Regions from separate parts of the Homo sapiens genome. Here regions 1 and 2 are each linked to region 3. Evidence: promoter capture Hi-C in human tissues and cell types (Jung and others, 2019). All regions are on one chromosome and are shown on one strand. The core of a region is centred on a gene start or on the middle of the fragment in contact, and the rest is flanking DNA. Distances in the headings are between cores, read along the strand shown.

Region 1 (4,492 bases), core at 1,543-4,042, 120 kb after region 3:
GTCTCTAACAGAGAAGCAAATGGAACCCATTTTCTCACATAGAGGTGCAGGGACTGATTGGGTGGCTGCCCTTCAGATTATAATTGGGCTGAAAGATGCAGTATGTTCAGCTAAGAATACATCCTGGTGCCAGGGAGTTTTGTCCCTTAATAATGTTGCTTTGCCATATAAGCTTTGCCTCCCAGGGAGACTCTGAGAATGGGGCAGCAGAATGAGAAAGAAAAGGGAAAGAGACTGTGCTTCAGTTTTTGAAAGATAGAGAAAATTGCTGGCAATTACTTTTAGAAGCAGAAAATTTGCTATACAGTTTCATGTAACCATAAGCAAGAACCTGCTTTCTCAATTCCTTCCCCTGTTCCCTCAACCCTTTTGGACAGTCTGGTCCTGAGGGTGCCTTTCCATATTACCTTTGGCTATTGAAATAAATAATTATTTAAATAAATGTTTGGAAGTTGCTAGGAGATTAAAACATGCTGTGCAGGGAGAGAACATTTCTGGACTGGGAGGAGCAGAAGAGGCAAGTTAAAGGAAAGGAAGTTAGGAACCATGCAGAGGAGCGGTTTTTGAGAAACAACAATCTCCGGTTTGGGGCATAATAGGTGCTCAGTGAGTATTTGATGATTAGTACTATAATTTATAAGCAAAGTCTTTGAAAACTTCTTTAAAATTTTCTCTCTGAGAAATGGGCTTGCCTGTGGTTTGGGACGTTTCTATGTAGGGATAACAAACAGAACCAAAATAGCAAAACAGATGTTTTGATATAATCTAAGAATTGCATCCTCTCAACTGGGAACTGTCATGAAGAGGAAGAACTCATAAAATTTGGGAAGTTTCTTGACTGAATTCTGTGGTGCAGAGTAGCAGTGTTGACTACTAGCCAATGAGGAAGATTTGAATATTGAAATTACTGGCTGGGCCTGGTGATTCATGCCTGTAATCCCAGCACTTTGGGAGGCCTAGGTGGGCAGATTGCTTAAGCTCAGGAGTTTGAGACCAGCCTAGGCAACATGGTGAAACCCTGTCTCTACAAAAATTAGCCGGGCATTGGTGGTGTGCACCCGTAATCCCAGCTACTGGGGAGGCTGAGGTGGAAGGATAGCTTGAGCCTGCGAGGTGGAGGTTGCATTGAGCTGAGACGGCACCACTGGACTCCAGCCTAGGCAATAGAGCCAGACCTTGTCTCAAAAAAAAAAAAAAAGAAAGAGAGAAATTATCTATCTCATGTTCTTCTTTGTGAAGGTAGATATCTCAGGCTATGGCCTGGGAAATTTTCTGTCAGACAAGGATGTGGATTTCCCTTCATGGGATCCCACTTTTGCTCGACCATACCTTCCTCTGACAGAGTGAGCTCTGTGCTGTTTCCCAGAGTTCTAGGAGAGACCAGAGATGGCTCTTAGCAACTGCTGCTGCTCTGAATTGTTATTGAACACTTCTGCCTCATACTTCCTGCCAGCTGAAGAGATGGGGGAGGGAATGTTGAGGAATAAACAAGACAGAGCCTTCCAGCTCTTGCCTGTTCCCTTGCCTTTAGTTTGATTGATGGATTGTTAAGTTAGGGATGGAAGGGGAGGTAGGGAGGAGGGCAGGCGCCTGTCTGAGTGTCCTGAGCTTAGTGCTTATGTCGCCACTCTGACAGGCAAGAAAAAAGGAATTTACAAACCACAGATGGCAACGATCTATCTGTGCTGACTTTGTCAGGGCTTACGACCAGGAGTTTAAGGTGAGACTCCTTCTTTTCCCCCAAATCATATAAAATAGCCAAGTAGGCTCTAGTAGTTAAAGAAAGGATCTAGAAGTTTCTAACCAGAAGCTCCCCCTCACATGTCTTTAGCTGCTGCTTTTGATCTTGCAAGGTAGGAACACTGCACTTTGCTTTTCCCGTGTTTGAATGTCAGCTTCTGCTGCTTTCAGAATGCTGCATATATTTACCACTTCCCCCATTAGTTTAGGATACAAAGAAAACCATAAAGTGTGCTCTTTGCTCTTTCAACTTCTGATCATGCATGCTATCATATCCTGTGTTCTTAAGAGCATCTTCCTTTGCCATTGGTTTTGTATTCCTGCCCTAATTTGTGCCTTCTAGCTTAGTTCTCTTGTATTGTAGTCCCTCATTGCCTAACCAAGGTCAGGTCTCTTTTATTCCTTCTGATCCAAGGCTTTCTTAACGCCTTCTTCCACTAGCTGTTATTTCTCAGCTATTGATGGCAGAGCAGTCAGCTTTGCTTCCTGAAACCAAATGCCCTCAAGATTTTCCTTCATGGAAAACATTAAAAAGAAGTTGATATTTATGTGGGACAGAGTTGCATTCTGTAACTACAAGCTTAATTTATTTTTTCATTCAGAAACTCTGTTTTCCTTCTAGGTGTTGTAATTCAAGGCAGTTCCAGAGAAAGATTATCTTGTCCAATTTCCTCATTTTATAGAAGAAACTAAGACCAGTGAAGTCCTGTGACTTGCCCAGCATCTCACAGGTAGTCACTGGCAAAGCCAGATTTGTAGACACCAAATTCTTATGGCATGTTGTTACTCTGGGATTCTTAACAAATCTTTAACTGTCAGGAAGGATTCTCAATTTTCCCACTTTATTTGTTATTTTCTTAGTATTATTATTTTCGAGATGGAGACTCACTCTGTCACCCAGGCTGGAGTGCAGTGGCACGATCTCGGCTCATTGCAGCCTCTGCCTCTGATTCAAGCGATTCTCCTGCCTTAGCTCCCCGAGTAGCTGGGATTACAAGTGCATACCACCATGCCTGGCTAGTTTTTTTTTTTTTTTTTTAATTTTAGTAGGGATAGGGGTTCACCATGTTGGCCAGGCTGGTCTCAAATTCCTGACTTCAAGTGATCCACCTGCTTCGGCCTCCCAGAGTGCTGAGATTACAGGCATGAGCCACCACACCCAGCCTATTTGCTTATTTTTAAGGCAGGGTCTCGCTATGTTGCCAATGCTGATCTTGAACTCCTGGGCTTATGCACTTCTGCCTTGGCCTCACTTATGCACTTCTGCCTTGGTCTCACTTATGCACTTCTGCCTTGGCCTCGCAAGTAGCTGGGACTACAAGTGTGTGCCACCACACCCAGCCATTTTTTCAATGTAAAGACTACCTTGAAACATTAGATGAAAATGCTTACATACTCCAAAATTGCTTTTACCCCAAAACTGCTTTCACTTGTTTTTCACAGTGACTTTAACATTGTAGACACTCAATAAACAAAGGATCTTTGAGTTTAGGATTTTAGGTAAGGTAATGAATGATGTTTGCAAAGAATAACCATTACAGCTGGCACTGAACCTATCCTGTTATTTATAAAGAAGGAAAGTTACTTTAAAACTGCTACTTTGAGCTTGACTACTTATGATATATGTGTGTGTGTTCTGGAATATTTCATCCAGCCAAATTTTCATTATAATAATTGAGGAATAGTTCTTTCTTTACTTGGCAATTGCAGGTAAGAAAAAAAACCCTGTTCTAGTGCTTCTTCCTTGGACACATCACTAATAGGCAGACCTTCAAATGTATTGTGGATATTACTAAGTATTTTGTAGAGAAGATATACTGTTGGCTAATTGTTATCACTTTTCATTCAGTCAGTACATTAATTGAATGCATTTTAGATACTAGGTTTTCTACTTGGTATTGGGTATACACTGGTAAATAAAACAGAGATGGTCTCTGCTTTTTGAGGAGCTTACAGTTTACCGTCTACAGCAGAGTTCCTAAAAGTGTGTCCCATAAAACCATGTACATCACCAGAGTATCAAAAATGCACATTCTTGGACCCTACCCTAGATATGCCGAATAAGTTTTTGGGGTAAGGGCCCAGAAATCTGTACTTCCAGAAGTCTCTCCAGATAATTGCTATATACATCAAAGTTTGAGAATTTTCCTTTCAAGGTAAGTATTCGGGGCCACTTCTCATTTAAAACACCAGCCTTCTAAACTTGAATTTCACATCAACTCTTATGTATAATTTAGTGGCTAAAAGCGTAAACTCTAGCCAGGCCTCCTGGCTTGAGCCTGGGAGGTTGAGGCTGCAGTAGTGAGCTGTGATCGCACTAGTGCACTCCAGCCTGGGCAACAGAGTGAGACTCCGTCTCAAAAAAATAATAATAATAAATTTTTTAAAAAGTGTGAACTCTGGAGCCAGACTACCTGGCTTTGTTTCCTACCTTTGCACTTATTTACTGAGTGATCTTGACCAAGTTTCTTAATTGTTCTTCCTCAGTTTTCTTATCTGCAAAATGAGAGAAATAGCACCTACATAAGTTTGTATTTATTTATTTATTTATGAGAGGGAGTCTCACTCTGCCGCCCAGGCTGGAGTGCAGTGGTGCAGTCTCTGCTCATTGCAACCTCTGCCTTAACCTCCAGAGTAGCTGGGATTACAGGCATGCACCACCATGCCTGGCTAATTTTTGTATTTTTAGTAGAGACAGGGTTTCGTTGTGTTGGCCAGGCTGGTGTCGAGCTCCTGGGCTCAAGTGATCCAC
Region 2 (4,431 bases), core at 1,883-4,382, 89 kb before region 3:
AAACTCCTGATGATTCGACCCCATTGCCTACAGGATAAAGTCCAAATGCTTTAATATATGCAAACACTTCACAATTTCGTCCCAACTTACCTAAAAGCTTCATTCTATTACTTTTCTTTCACTTCACATCCTATGACCCAGTCATGTATAACTAAATGCTGCTGTGATATGCTGGGCACTTGCACAGTATCTAGTGATTGTGTATCCTGCACAAGCTCTTCTTCCTTATGTCTACCAGCAGAAATCCTGTCCTATCATCAAATCATACCTCCTCTTTGAAGCCTTTATTAACCTTCTCTGCCAATGTAGTTTCCATACAATCTGGTTTTTTGTTTGTTTGAGACACGGTCTCACTCTGTCGCCCAGGCTGGAGTGCAGTGATGTGATCTTGGCTCATGGTAGCATCAGGCTCCCAGGCTCAAGCCATCCTCCCATCTCAGCCTCCCAAGTAGCTAGGACTACAGGTGCATACCACCACACCCAGCTAATTTTTGTATTTTTTGTAGAGACGAGGTTTTGCCACGTTGCTCATGTTGGTATTGAAATCCTAAGCTCAAGTCATCTGCCTGCCTTGGCCTCCCAAAGTGCTGGGATTACAGGCATAAGCCACTACACCCAGCCCCCAATCTGCTATATTATCACTTTGTATTGCAATTTGTTTTTCTCTGTCTACCACTAGACTGTGGTATTTGTAGAGACAAAAACTATATCTTCTTATTTCTATCCTTCCCAGAGTCTAGTATCAGTAAATATTCAAGAAATAGTTGTTAAATGTATGATGAAGGCTGGGTGCAGTGGCTCACGCCTGTAATCCTAGCACTTTGGGAGGCTGACGTGGGCAGATCACCTGAGGTCAGGAGTTCGAGACCAGCCTGGCCAACATGGTGAAACCCTGCCTCAACTAAAAATAAAAAATTAGCCGGGCATGGAGGCACACGCCTGTAATCCCAGCTACTTGGGAGGCTGAGACAGGAGAATCACTTGAACCCGGGAGGCAGAGGTTGCAGTGAGCCGAGATTGTGCCACTGCACTCTAGCCTGGGCAAAAAGAGCAAAACTCCATCTAAAAGAAAAAAAAAAAAGAAAACTGTATAATGGGGTGGAAACATTTGCAGAGAACCAAAATGCACTATCGTTACTTTTTTTTTTTTTTTTTTTTTTTTGCTGTTTGGAACCGATAGGTCTACTATCTACCACCACCCCCACATAAACCTGGAGCCCAAAGAAAGTATGCTTTATTTTCCCCCCTCTTCCTATTCATCAGCTTTTTATCCTTCCATCTCATAAATAACAGTAAACAATACAGAAAGAATCCCTGCCCTTTAAAGGGCTTATATTCAAGTAAGGAGAGGCAATTAATAGGGAAACATACATATGGTCATTTCAGATAGTGATGAATGCAATGAATAAAATAAAGCAGTTTGACGAGACAGGATGTGCTAGAGAAGAAACGTGCTATTTTAAATGAGAATGAGGAACAAGTGATAGAATGTTTCTCTGAGAAGGTAAGACATAAGCTGAGGCCTAAAGGATGAGAAACAACCCACTACGCAAAATTTTAGGGAAATAATTCTGCAAGCAGAAGGAATTGCAAGTGTAAAGGCTCTGAAGCAGAAATGCACACGGTTGGTCAGGTGTGGCGGCTCACATCTGTAATCCCAACACTTTGGAAGGCCAAGGCAGGAGAATCGCTTGAGGCCAGGAGTTCAAGACCAGCCTGCAAAACATCATCTCTACAAAACATTTAAAAATAAAAAAATTAGCTGGGCGTGTTCTTATGCACTAGCTATTAAGGAGGCTGAAGTAGGAGGATCGCTTGAGCCTGGGAGTTGGAGGCTGCGTGAGCTATGATCATGCCACTGCACTCCAGGGCGGGTAACAGAGCAAGACCCTGTCTCTCAAAAAAAAAAAAAGAATAAGAAGAAATGCACTTGGCTGTTTGACAGACTGTGTGTCTAGGAAAGGAAATTAGTTTAGAGAAGCAGAGCTTTGTAGGTGGTAGCCATGATGTAGGCTGACTGCACCTGCCTTGACTTTGGAATTTTGTAGTTTACAATCTTCTCCTCGCTAATATTAGAACAAGAAAATGACGGAATGGGGTATGCAGCCCACTCTATTGTCAGGAAGATGCCAGATAATTCTGAAAGTATCTTTTCTAGATACAAGGCCATAACAGTATGGTCCCAGGGCTAATGAAAACTTGATAAGCAGAGAAGAGTAAAAGCACATGAAAAGAAAGACAAGTTCTTCTGACTACAGGCAAGTCCAAATGAGAAACATCAAAATTATCTCAGATTCAAAGAGGAAACAAAACACAATACTACTCTGAAAATATATATGGGCTATAAATGTATGCTTTTAACTGAATGAATTTTTCCCTTCCCACGTAAACTTATAATACAAATCTAGACTTCAGTGATTAAACAGATTTCCACTTTTAATTCACCAAGGTTTTTCTTCACTTTCACAGAAATGAAACAATTGTCTGATGTTTTGAGAATTCAAAGATTTAGATGCTTTAGAAACTGCCTCTTAGCAATCATTTTATGGATGTTTATGTCATAATTATTTAATCCATCCAAGTAGTACTGTGATGTTACAGTCAATTTATGACATAAAGAAATATTCACAGAACTATTCGTTAAAGCAACTCTGTGATTGCTAGAAAGTAAAGCAGTAATTACACATCTTACTCGTATTGTAAGTAGCATCTGCTGGCTTTGGTAACCCGAACACAATTCTAAATATAAAGATCCTTTCATTATCCTAATTAAGTCCTGAATTTCCAGGTTGTCAGCCTTCTAACAGTAAAAATAAATCCATTCTCATCATTCTTAAATTCAAATGGTCTCTGGCTAGTATAGTGATGTTTCTCCAAGGCTCTCTATGGGGGATCAGAGATAAGATTTTGTCCATGTTCTCTATGCAGGACCATCACAAGTAGCAGAGGTGGTCAGGCGTAGTGGCTCAGCCTGTAATCCCAGCACTTTGGGAGGCCGAGGCGGGTGGATCACTTGAGGCCAGGAGGTCAAGACCAGCCTGGCCAATATGGCAAGAGCCCGTCTCCACAAAAATACAAAAAAAAAAAAAATAAGCTGGGCATGGTGGCACATGCCTGTAAGTCCCAGCTACTCTGGAGGATGAGGCACAAGAATCACTTGAACCTGGGAAGAGGAGGTTGCAGTGAGCTGAGATCGCACCACTGCACTCCAGCCTGGGTGACAGAGCAACACTCCATCTCAAAAAGAAAAAGAAGTAGCAGAGGTAACAAACATAATTACATTATGTTCCCACCCTCCCACCACTCCCCCCAAAGGGCCAAAGTTTCTTACAATGAGTCTTCACATTAATCCACAGTCTCAAGAGCTATGAAGGAAAAGAAAACACTTTAGCCTAAAAGATGACCTTTCCACATTCTCCAGGCTAATTTCCAACTTCATATATTTATACGGCCTTTTATTTTCTCTATCCCACTCATCAAGGGAGAGCCATTAAAAAGTATATAAATGGCCGGGCGCGGTGGCTCACGCCTGTAATCCCAGCACTTTGGGAGGCCGAGGCGGGCGGATCACGAAGTCAGAGGATCAAGACCATCCTGGCTAACATGGTGAAACCCTGTCTCTACTAAAAATACAAAAACAAAATTAGCCGGGCGTGGTGGCGGATGCCTGTAGTCCCAGCTACTTGGGAGGTTGAGGCAGGAGAATGGCATGAACCCGGGAGGCAGAGCTTGCAGTGAGCCGAGATCGCGCCACTGCACTCCAGCCTGGGCGACAGAGTAAGACTCCATCTCAAAAAAAAAAAAATTTTATATATATATATAAATACCCAATGTACCTTCTTCCCAATCTCACATTTTTAGACAGATTAATTTTGTCATTATTTTCCATCTCACCCATAAATTCATAATTGAAATAGAAAATCCATTGCCTTAGTTGGGAAATAAAATTGCCTAACTTCTCCTTGGAGTTCTAACTTAATTCTAATGCTGGAAACTCCAGGAAGAAACGCAAACAAATTATCTTTTGGAAAATTTCTCCAAACAGGATGTACTGTATATCCTTGCAGACTAAGCCTGGGTATTACTGAGTAAGGATTTACTCTTTTCTTTTCAGGGGCAGAGTCTGAATTAAACCAAGGCCTTATGTCCTTCTTAAAAGACCAACAGCATCTGCATCACCTGGAATTTGTAAAAATATGCAGAATTTGGGGCTCCACCTCAGACATCCTAAATCAGAGTCTGCATTTTACTGATATCTGTATGCAACTCTATGTTCATCAGAAAATCTCAGAACTGGTAGAAAACTTAAAAGCCCATCGCACACACATAAAGAGAGATGAGCCTTGGATAACAAATAATTGATAATGACTATAGTGCCCCTTCACAAATTATTTCTTAACAACAGGTTCTCCTTAAGAAAAATTTCTTGTA
Region 3 (4,517 bases), core at 1,636-4,135:
GTGCAGTGGTGTGATCACAGTTTACTGCAGCCTCGCCTCCTGAGCTCAGGTGATCCTCTTCCAAGTAGCTGGGAACACAGGAGCTTGCCACCACACCTAGCTAATTTTTAGGTTTTTTTTGTAGAGACAGGGTCTCCTGATATTGCCCAGACTGGTCTCGAATTTCCGAGTTCAACCAATCCTCCCACCTCAGCCTCCCAAAATGCTGAGATTACCGGTGTGGGCTACGGTACCCAGCCACCTATGTTATTCTGGAGGACGTACTTATCATAACATGTATGACATACTAAATTATATTATATGAAAAAACTTAAGTCATAGTCTCTGCCTTCAAGCACTTAATGTTTTAGTTATGGAGACTGTTATGGTTAATTTTAGGTGTCAACTTGACCAGATTAAGAAATACCTAGAGGGCTTGTAATCCCAGCACTTTGGGAGGCCGAGGCGGGAGGATCACCTAAAGTCGGGAGTTTGAGACCAGCCTGACCAACATGGAGAAACCCCATCTCTACTACAAATACAAAATTAGCCGCGCATGGTGGCACATGCCTGTAATCCCAGCTACTCGGGAAGCTAAGGCAGGAAAATCGCTTGAACCCGGGAGGCGGAGGTTGTGGTGAGCCAAGATTGCACTATTGCACTCCAGCCTGGGCAACAAGAGGAAACTCCATCTCAAAAAAAGAAAAAGAAAAAAAAAAGAAAAAGAAAAAGAAATACCTAGATAACTTGTAAAGCATTGCTTCTGGGTGCCTTTGAGGGTATTTCCAAAGGAGACTGGCATGTGAGTCAGTGGACTGAGTGGGGCAGATCTGCTCTCAATGTGAGCGGGCACCATCCAATTAACCAAGGACCCAGAACAAAAAAGGTGAGAAAAAATATTTCTTCCTTCTGGAGCTGAGACACTCTTCTCAGACTTCTGCTCCCAGACATCAGAACTCCAGGCCCTCCACCTTGAGACTTGAAGATTTCACAACTTGGACTGAGCCAGCTACCAGCATTCCAGGGTCTCCTGCTTGCAGATGGCCTGTCATGGGTCTTTTCAGTCTCCATAATTTCCTGAGCCAATTCCCTAATAAATCTCCTCATAGATCTGTATCTATATCTATCTGTTATCTATCCTATTGGTTCTGTCTCTGGAGAACCCTAACACAGGGACTGAATAAATAAACAGGTAAATGACTTTGATACCTTACAATTATTATTAAATGTAGTGGAGTTTTACAAAGAAACAAAACTTGTACCCACAATTAATAAACATTCACAGAGTATTTTGACTTTTTCTTAAAAAAAAAAACCCTGGAAAATCATCTGCTTTCCAAATTAATGATATCTACGACAATCTAAATGGAATGTAAATCAATACACTTATGAGGTTTTGTTTTGTTTTTGTAAAAAGGCCTTGCTCTGTCGCCCAGGCTGGAGTGCAGTAGTGCAATCAGGGCTCACTTCAAGCTTGACCTTCCAGGCCCAAGTGATCCTCCCACCTCAGCCTTTCAAGTAGCTGAGACTACAGGCATGTGCCACCATGCCAGGCTAATTTTTTTCATTTTTGTAGAGATGAGGATTCTCCTTATGCTGCCCAGACTGGTCCGGAACTCCTGGGCTCAAGTGATCCTCTTGCCTCTGATTCCCAAAGTGCTGGCATTACAGGCATGAGCCACCACGCCCAGTGTGTGTGTGTGTGTGTGTGTGTGTGTTTGTGTGTGTGTCTCCGTGTGCGCTCGGGTGATCCTCCCGCCTCGGCCTCCCAAAGCGCTGGGATTACAGGCATGAGACACTGCGCCCGGCCAATACACTCATGATTTTAATTATAATATTTATGCCAATGAAAACACTAGCAAAAAGGTAAAACAGCTGCCAATTTAATGTGACCACTTAGTCTAAACAGGCTAGTAGAAATGAAGAACTTTTAACCTGCAAATGCAACAAAAAGCCAGAAATGAATGGGAAGACATTATGATCTCCAGAAAAGTTTGGCTAAATTTTCCCCAGCCCATTGTCTTAGCGGGGTAGGGAATTGCAGACAGCCCTTAAATACTGTCATTTTTGGTTGAGAACTCATGTGGAAAGTCCTCAAAGCCAAATTCCAACTCCTGTTTTACTGTTTTTTACCCTCGAGCTTGCTGAGTTGTCTTGGCTCTCCTGGAAAATACATGGCTCAAAAAATAAAATAGAAGTTTTAGCGGTGTGAATCTAGTAGTCGACTACAGGGGGTATTAAAAATAAACACTCCATCCCGGTTAACACGTGAAACCGCGTCGCTACTAAAAATACAAAAAAAATTAGCCGGGCGTGGTGGCGGGTGCCTGTAGTCCCAGCTACTTGGGAGGCTGAGGCAGGAGAATGGCATGAACCCGGGAGGCGGAGCTTGCAGTGAGCCGAGATCATGCCACTGCACTCAAGCCTGGGCGACAGTGCGAGACTCCGTCTCAAAATAAATAAATAAATTAATTAATTAATTAAAAAATTAAAACCACCACCAGAGCAAAAACTTACAGCGCTTACAATACCTTCCACGTGCTGTTTTATTTTACATAAAACCATGACGATTAAAAAGCTGGCCTCTCAGCTTTCCGGGTATTGGTTTGTTTTCCCCCTAAACTGTCGTTTTTATAGGCACTTGCACTGTCTTCTTAGCAGAATTGCCAATGGCCTTCCTCGAGTCCTACGTTTAGCGATTGGCAAGAATCATGCACTGACAGAGCTCGACTCCGGAGGGCACAAGGAAGTAGACAACAAAGCAGGAAGAAGCAGGAGGCGCACAGATGGGCGGGATCTGCACTGGAGGCGGTGCGACCTTGCGGGGCGGTGCAAGCTGGCGGAACCCGCGTGAGAGAGGTTGGTGTTGCGAAGGGAACTAGTCCGGTGCAGGACGTGGGGCTTTTGCAGCTCAGCTGGTTCCGGCTGGGGAAGATGGCGGTGGCTGGGGCGGTGTCCGGGGAGCCGCTGGTGCACTGGTGCACCCAGCAGTTGCGGAAGACTTTCGGCCTGGATGTCAGCGAGGAGATCATTCAGTGAGAACAGTTCGGGTCCAAGCGGGGAAGGAGCTCTGGGATGTGCACTGCCTGAGCGAACCGGGAAGCGGGGAGGACTGAAAAGTTAAGAGAGAAATGTGATAAAGGGGCTGCAGTCTGTAGTCTGTAGGCGTCGAATTTTGGCCTCCACCTTTGTAGTTTAGTTTCTGGAATAGGGTGTCCGGCTCCACAGTCTGCCGGTCGGGCTTTTTTCCTGGGAAGACGCCCAATCTGTAATAATTAGAAATGCAAGGCTGTCCCAGGAGCCAGTTTCCTTTCTAGAGAGAAGGGGCAGGTCAAACTGTATTTCCTAACTTTGAACCCCTTACTCTTTTATTTATTTATTATTATTGTTGTTATTATTGAGACGGAGTCTCTGTCGCCCAGGCTGGCGTGCGGTGGCGCGATCTTGGCTCACTGCAACCTCCGCCTTCCGGGTTCAGGTGATTCACCTGCCTGAGCCTCCCAAGTAGCTGGGATTACAGGCACGCACCACCACACCCGGCTAATTTTTAAAAATTTTTAGTAGAGTCAGTGTTTCACCATGTTGGCCAGGCTAGTCTCCAGCTCCTGATCTCAAGTGATCCGCCCGCCTCGACCTCCCAAAGTGCTGGGATTACAGGCATGAGCCACCGCACCCAGATATACTCTGAACATTTTAGTCGGCCCAATCTGAGTTGTGTCAGTAGAGCCAACAGGGTCAGCTGTGTCAATAGGACCTAGAATTTAAGTGGAAGCAGCGTGGTAGAGTACAAATAGCTTCTGACTCTGGAGTCTCAGGTTCTATATTCTGTTGTCGTTTACCTGTTTTAGAACCCAGGACAACTTAATTTTTCTCTCTGTACCCTGGTTTCTTCATTTATAAGATTAATCATTAGTAGAGCTTATCATGCTTTATGACTCCTATGAAATGGAGATGGTGTACATGACTTAATATCTACTTTCAACTGATTGAAGAACATTTGTTGCGCTGCTGTTACACGCCAGGTGCTGGGGTAACAAAGACAAGACAGTTGGGTTCCCCTTCGTTGATGAGTGCTGAGGTTGGGGAAATGAAGGGGCTTGTTGGAGCACAAAATAAAGGATTCTCATTAAGATTTGAAAAACTCGGAAGGTTTATTGGAAAGGATAACTTTCACCCGAGAACTAAGGAATAGACAGAGGTGGCGGTCCAAAGTGTTCAGGCAGGGGAGAAAACTACAAAAATGGGACTTGATCGAAGAACTGAAAGTGTTCCTTCATTTGATTCCTTGGTCACTGATGTTGAAACCTAAATTGCTGTTCTAGGGCTTTTGTAGGAAGTAAGATGAGTTTCTGAGTTTCGGAGAAAATAGACTTTTGGCAAGGAGACAGTTCAAGTAGGTTATTTTAATGGATTTTTTTGAGGCCCTAGGAGATGGCTCAAGCCCTTATTCCCAGCACTTTGGGAGGTAGAGGTGGGAGGATTGCTTGAGACTGGGAGTTGGAGACCACCCTGGGCAACATAGTGAGACCCTGTCTCTA

What was found. Contacts are between HindIII fragments. The study calls those that stand out against the background at their distance.
Region 1: a contact is called between a fragment that was not itself captured here and the fragment with the promoter of TRIP4 in region 3, in 5 of the 25 tissues and cell types used here (hippocampus, liver, lymphoblastoid cells and 2 more).
Region 2: a contact is called between a fragment that was not itself captured here and the fragment with the promoter of TRIP4 in region 3, in 3 of the 25 tissues and cell types used here (IMR-90 fibroblasts, mesendoderm cells and spleen).

What each region holds. Positions count from the first base shown.
Region 1 is chr15:64,501,876-64,506,367 of GRCh38, forward strand. All of the region lies in intron 2 of ZNF609 (zinc finger protein 609), which reads left to right. Among named protein-coding and RNA genes, the nearest start is that of ZNF609, 44 kb to the left of the region's middle. The HindIII fragment of the contact is 8,439 bases long and covers 1-4,492 here.
Region 2 is chr15:64,295,800-64,300,230 of GRCh38, forward strand. The region is part of intron 2 of CSNK1G1 (casein kinase 1 gamma 1); the gene reads right to left. Among named protein-coding and RNA genes, the nearest start is that of CSNK1G1, 58 kb to the right of the region's middle. The HindIII fragment of the contact is 7,582 bases long and covers 1-4,431 here.
Region 3 is chr15:64,384,951-64,389,467 of GRCh38, forward strand. It overlaps TRIP4 (thyroid hormone receptor interactor 4), which reads left to right and starts at 2,886. Exons shown (of 13, transcript NM_016213.5): 1 at 2,886-3,014. The coding sequence starts at 2,914. It also overlaps a transcript of PCLAF not described here. RefSeq lists enhancers at 2,601-3,101, 2,683-3,172, 3,102-3,602. The HindIII fragment of the contact is 11,205 bases long and covers 1-4,517 here.